Linked DNA regions of Homo sapiens: region 2 is linked to region 1. Evidence: promoter capture Hi-C in 16 types of primary human blood cells and fetal thymus (Javierre and others, 2016). All regions are on one chromosome and are shown on one strand. The core of a region is centred on a gene start or on the middle of the fragment in contact, and the rest is flanking DNA. Distances in the headings are between cores, read along the strand shown. Region 1 holds the start of GP5 (glycoprotein V platelet). Region 2 overlaps APOD (apolipoprotein D).

The links. Contacts are between HindIII fragments. The CHiCAGO score rates a contact against its expected background, and 5 or more counts as called.
Region 2: a contact is called between a fragment that was not itself captured here and the fragment with the promoter of GP5 in region 1, in 1 of 17 cell types (neutrophils). The highest score is 5.4, in neutrophils.

The regions. Positions count from the first base shown.
Region 1 is chr3:194,397,830-194,400,573 of GRCh38, forward strand. GP5 (glycoprotein V platelet) reads right to left here and starts at 1,437. Exons shown (of 2, transcript NM_004488.2): 1 at 1,409-1,437; 2 at 1-455. The coding sequence starts at 453. RefSeq lists an enhancer at 2,267-2,744. The HindIII fragment of the contact is 7,722 bases long and covers 1-2,744 here.
Region 2 is chr3:195,578,808-195,581,565 of GRCh38, forward strand. It overlaps APOD (apolipoprotein D), which reads right to left. Exons shown (of 5, transcript NM_001647.4): 2 at 532-688. The coding sequence starts at 654. Among named protein-coding and RNA genes, the nearest start is that of APOD, 3.8 kb to the right of the region's middle. The HindIII fragment of the contact is 5,498 bases long and covers 1-2,758 here.

The DNA.
Region 1 (2,744 bases), core at 187-2,686:
GAGCTCCTGCAGGTTAACCAGTTTCTGAAACATGTTTTGGTCAATGCCCCTTAGCGCATTGTGGTCCAAAAACAACTGCTCCAGGAGCACCATCTTATCCAGCAGCGCACCTGGAAGATGCGTGATTTTGTTGCGCGACAGCCTCAGGGTTTTCAGTTTTATCAGGTCACTGAAGGTGCCGGGGGCAACGGCGGAAATGTGGCTGTCGGAGATCATGAGGCGCTGCAGGACGGTCATGCCGCTGAAGCTCTGGCTCTGCAGGACGCCGCGGCCCATTCCGAAGAGCAGGATGTGCGTGAGGTTGGTGGGCAGGCCTAGCGCGGAGATGCGCGCCACGTCGCCCCCCGAGCACTGCGCGGCGTCCCGGAAGACACACTTGCAAGCTGGCGGACAGGGGAAGGGCTGGGCGCGCAGAAGCCCGAGCACCGCGCACAGTAGAGTCCCCCTCAGCATGTCTGAAAAAGCAACCGTGGGAGTGTGGTCAACACACAGGAGCGTTCGCGCCTGTACTGAACCCTGGGATCCTGCACTTTGTGCAGAGGCACAATCCTTTCGCCAGAATTCTCACTCCCTCTTTTCTTAGGACTACAGATTTCCCTACGTGGTGAAAAGACACTCATTCTACACTGCGTGGCCTCATGCTTTTGCTTTATTGATTTTCCACTCTCAGTTTAAAGCATTGAGATTACAGAGTTTTCAAGCTACCGAATAGCCAATACTTTAAAGTCCTTACATAGAGAATTAAAATAATCATTCTCACATTCAAGCTCACAGACATCACAAAGCAATGTCCATTGTGAAAACGGCTCTGCTCTTGACTTTATAACTTACCCTGCATTGGCTATAACCAACAGTCAAGAAGGGAACAGCAAAGTCTGCAGCCACCACCATCTGATTCTTTTGCTCACAATCATGCTATTTCCACAGTACCAAGTTACTCTATTAAAGGACACCCCCAAAACAGCGAACACCTTCAATCAACAGCCAACAAAAGCATATAATAATACCTATCACTTTACGCCATGCATTGTTCTCAGCTCTTTATTTATACTACATGCATTTAATCCTTACAATAACCTTAGGAGGTAAGTATATTATCCCCGATTCAAGGATGAAGGCACAGAGGCACAGAAAGGCTCAACAGTATAACTAGGGTCACATAGAATTTGAGGGTAGTATTTCTGACTTAGCCATAAAGAGCTACTATTTCTAAGATGCTTAACTAAAGGTAATACTCACGGCACTGAATTTTCTGGGAAATGCACACCATACTACTAACCTGCCAAAACAATGTTTCCTAAGCGAAATTTTACATAAATTGCTTCTCGTGCAATTTTACTTCTCATGCACACACAGACTAAAGAGCCCTCTAATTTCCTATACTAATGTTTAAAATATTTGGCCTTACCTGAAATGGTTCTGCACTCCAAAGTAACTGAAAGACTTAGAGCTCTGCATGTGATTCGACACTTTCCACAGGAAGAGGGTGGTATCCTTGCATCCTGAGGATAAAGACTTTACCAGAGTAGGTCAGGAAAGGACCCTATCTCAGAGCCCTTGTTCTGGTTTTTAATGACAAATATCTTCAAACCGAGAGACCATATATAACCTGATTCCTACTGTCAAAGCCAAGAGCAGTGGGGAGAGTTTTTCCATAAATGGCACAATATAACTCTATGATGCCAGGGAAGTTCAGTGATACAGCTGGATCACTGCAGTAGCCACACCCCTAGATGGGCCACACTTCCCCTGGGTCTTCCTTTTCATGCCACATGGCCCTAATTTCCCACCCAGGTTTTTTTTTTTTTTTTTTTTTTTTTTTTTTTTTTTTTTGGTATGTGTTGTTTTTCTTTCTCCGCTTAGCAATAAAGCTAAGAACATTCTCAAATCCTCCATTTTTTTCTTCCTTTTGGGACTAATAAGGCTAAGAACATCTTTGAACTTGTTCAACAATGGCATTGCTAGGTTGCAGGATGCTCACTTGTTGTTTTTTTGGTGGGGGAGGGGGACTCTGTCGCCCAGGCTGGGGTGCAGTGGTGCGATCTCGGCTCACTGCAACCTCCTGCTCCCTGGTTCAAGCAATTCTCCTGCCTCGGCCTCACAAGTAGCTGGGATTACAGGCACACACCATCACGCCCAGCTAATTTTTTGTATTTTAGTAGAGACGGGGTTTTACCGTGTTGCCCTGGCTGGTCTTGAACTCCTGAGCTCAGGCAATCCGCCCGCCTCGGCCTCCCAAACTGCTGGGATTACAGGCATGAGCCACCACGCCCGGCCGCTCACATGTTCAGTTTAACTGGGGAAAGTCAAACTGCTCTCCAAAGTGGTTGTGTTGGTCTACGATGACACCTGCCATTTGTGAGAGTTCCTGTGCTTCCTCTCTGCCCACACGTGGCACTTCCTGCTTTTTGCCATTTCTATGAAAGATATCTCAGCATGATTTTAACTTTTCCTTTCCCTGTTTAATGATGAACTTGAACACCTTTTCACATAATTAAGGCCCACTTGTGCTTCATTTGAGAAAGCTGGGTTTCCTTTTGCCCATTTGTCTATAGGCAAAACGTGTCTACGTGTCTTTTGAACACACTGATAATGCTGTCTGCATTAAGACTTCCGGCCAGCCGCCCTGTCCGGGAGGGAGGTGGGGGGGTCAGCCCCCCGCCCGGCCGGCCGCCCCATCCGGGAGGTGAGGGGCGCCTCTGCCCGGCCGCCCCTACTGGGAAGTGAGGACCCCTCTGCCCGGC
Region 2 (2,758 bases), core at 254-2,753, 1.2 Mb after region 1:
CAAGGATAATAGCTCTGTAGCAGCTACTATGGTTCCCTGGTCCTGTTCCCCTCAGCCCACCTCTGAGTTCACCGCAGCCACGGTAGGCAATTCCCAGACACTGCCAGCCTCCCACCTGAGACCCTGTGTCTCTCCTCTGCCAGGGGGCTCAGCTAGAGCCACGGATGCTCCCATGACCTGCTGGCAGCAGCTGTGGGACAATCGGAGGGGCATGCTCCACGTGTCCTCAGAGGGTGCCCAGTGTGACTGACCCTGACGGCCCAGGGCGACAGCTCAGGAACGCACCCTTTATTGCTTCTGTGCTGTCTCCGACTCACCTTCCCACCTGCTCTCGTGCGTCCCGGGATCATCCCAAACCTCTCTGCCTGCAGTCTTTATCTCAGCAGATGTCTGCTTTGGGGAAACCCCAAATAAGATAAATACTTGTCCCAAGGTGTGCAGTGGAAATTAAAGCAGCATAATTACATTGAACCTTGTAGAACGCTTATTCACAGCGGAGGCAGCAAAACAAACGGGAGGTTCGCCTTTTACCTTATTCACGTCAAAATTCTCCTGCACCGGAGGATTGGGGCACTTCCCAAGATGAAATGCTTGTCCCTCTGCCGCACCGAAGAGGCCAGCCAGTGCGGAAAGCAGCAGCAGCAGCATCACCATCTTGGGGCTGGGTGGCTGGAGAAGGGACCTGGAGCTGCGGGAACGCAAAGCAGCTGGGGTTGTCATTCTGAGCCTTCTAAGGCCACACAATCATGAAGTAAGAGTGCTGTGCCCATGGTCCCCTCTGTGGGCGGTCCCTCCTCTTCTCTCCCCAGCCCATGTGAACCCTCATCCTGCAGGGGAACACCTGCCTGTCCTTGTTGCTGTGAGGCCTTCCTCAGAGCCTCTGCACCTCCACGAGGGCGCTCTCTGCCTGGTATTCTGGTTTGTTGGATTGATTTTCACCCCTGTCCCACCTAATTATGCATCTCCCAGGATGGGCACTGTGTCTAGTTCTCCTCAGAATCACCCACGGACCTCAAAGTGTCGGCTCAGTAGATACTTGTCAAATGAACAGAAACAGCGTGGAGAGGGCTATGTAAAGTGGGGGATTAAAGCCTCCAAGTGAACCACGAAAGACACGAAACCAAACCAAATGTTGCCCAACACTTAGTGTCCTCTGAGATTCTTCAGGGAGATGCCTCTCTGACACCATCCCTCCCCCTGCCCTCGTCTTGCTGGCTGTTCTACCAGCCCAAGAGTGCGCTTGGAAACCTTAACAGGGAGCGGCCTGCTGGGGGCTCCAGGGTCACCCCAGCCAGGTTCAAATTGTGACTCTGCCCCATACTAAGTATAACTGTGTCCAATTTATGCCTTAGCTTCTTTGTCTAGTAAATGGGAATAATTATCATTCCTAGCTCATGAATTTTTGTGAGAATTAAATGAGATAATATACAGAGAGTACTTAGAGGAGTGTCTGATACAGAGTAAATGCTCAATAAATGCTAGTTATTGTTATTATCAAAAGCAGAAAGATGATGGTATTTCCCAGGTTTCTTCTTTCTTTTCTTTTCTTCTTTCTTTCTTCTTTTTTTTTTTTTGACATTCTGTTGAGGGTTTTTGTTTTGTTTTGTTTTGTTTTGAGATGGAGTCTCACTCTGTCACCCAGGCTGGAGTGCAGTGGCACAATCTCGGCTCACTGCAACCTCTGTCTCCCGGGTTCAAGTGATTCTCCTGCCTCAGACTCCTGAGTAGCTGGGATTACAGGTGTCCACCACAACTCCCGGCTAATTTTGGTATTTTTAGTAGAGACAGGGTTTCACCATGTTGGCCATGCTGGTCTCAAACTCCTGACCTCAGGGGATCCACCCGCCTTGGCCTCCCAAAGTGCTGGGATTACAGGCCTGAGCCACCGCACCCGGCCTGTTGAGGGTATTTTTCATAGATGAAGTTCATTAAATCAGAGAAGGACTGTCAGCTGATGTGTAACTGTGCAACAAGCATTTCAACCCCAAGAGTCCTTTGGCAGCAGAAGCTGGCTTTGAAGCGGGGCAGCAAGGCAGGGAGACAGAGGCTGCAGGACTGTGTGCAGGTTCTGGGCATTGGAAGCTCCCCTGTTTCCTTCACTGACTCGCTGTCAATTTGCTCCTTTCCTTGTGACTCCTTGCCTGTAGCTTGCACACGAGCTATTTCCAGCTCTCTGCATTTCTCCCTGTAATGATGATGACTGATGCAATGCAAGCAAAATGTTCTCAGATCTGAGCATTTCGAAGGATGTGTCATTACAGGAATAATTATAACTGCTTTATTGTGAGTCTCTAAACCTCTAAATACCCTTTAATAATCAATAGCTTTTTTTCCCCTGGAGGTTTTGTTGCCTGGTTTTCCAAAGAACAGTTATGTAAGGAGTGGCAGCTTGCCAGCTGGGGTTGCTGCAGGGGGAGATGGTTGCTGAGGCCCCTTTGAGCAAGTCTGCCACAGGGCCACTTTCCCTGGTCTCTGAGGTTCCGTTTCTCATCGGCTCCACCACTGTATAAACAAAACCTGTCTTTTAACCTTTTGGGGGATGATGAATTTATAGAAATGCAGCCTAAACCCACACAAATTTGCATCCATTTTAAAGAGATCTTGAATTCTACTTAGTAGGCCCAAGCTGAAAGCCTGGCCCAGAGGATCAAACCTCAAAGACTGGCCACACACTATGCACATTCCACAAGGTCCCCACACTGGATAGGACCTTAGAGGTCATCTTTCTAGCTCTACTTCCAAGGTGTACAGATGGGGA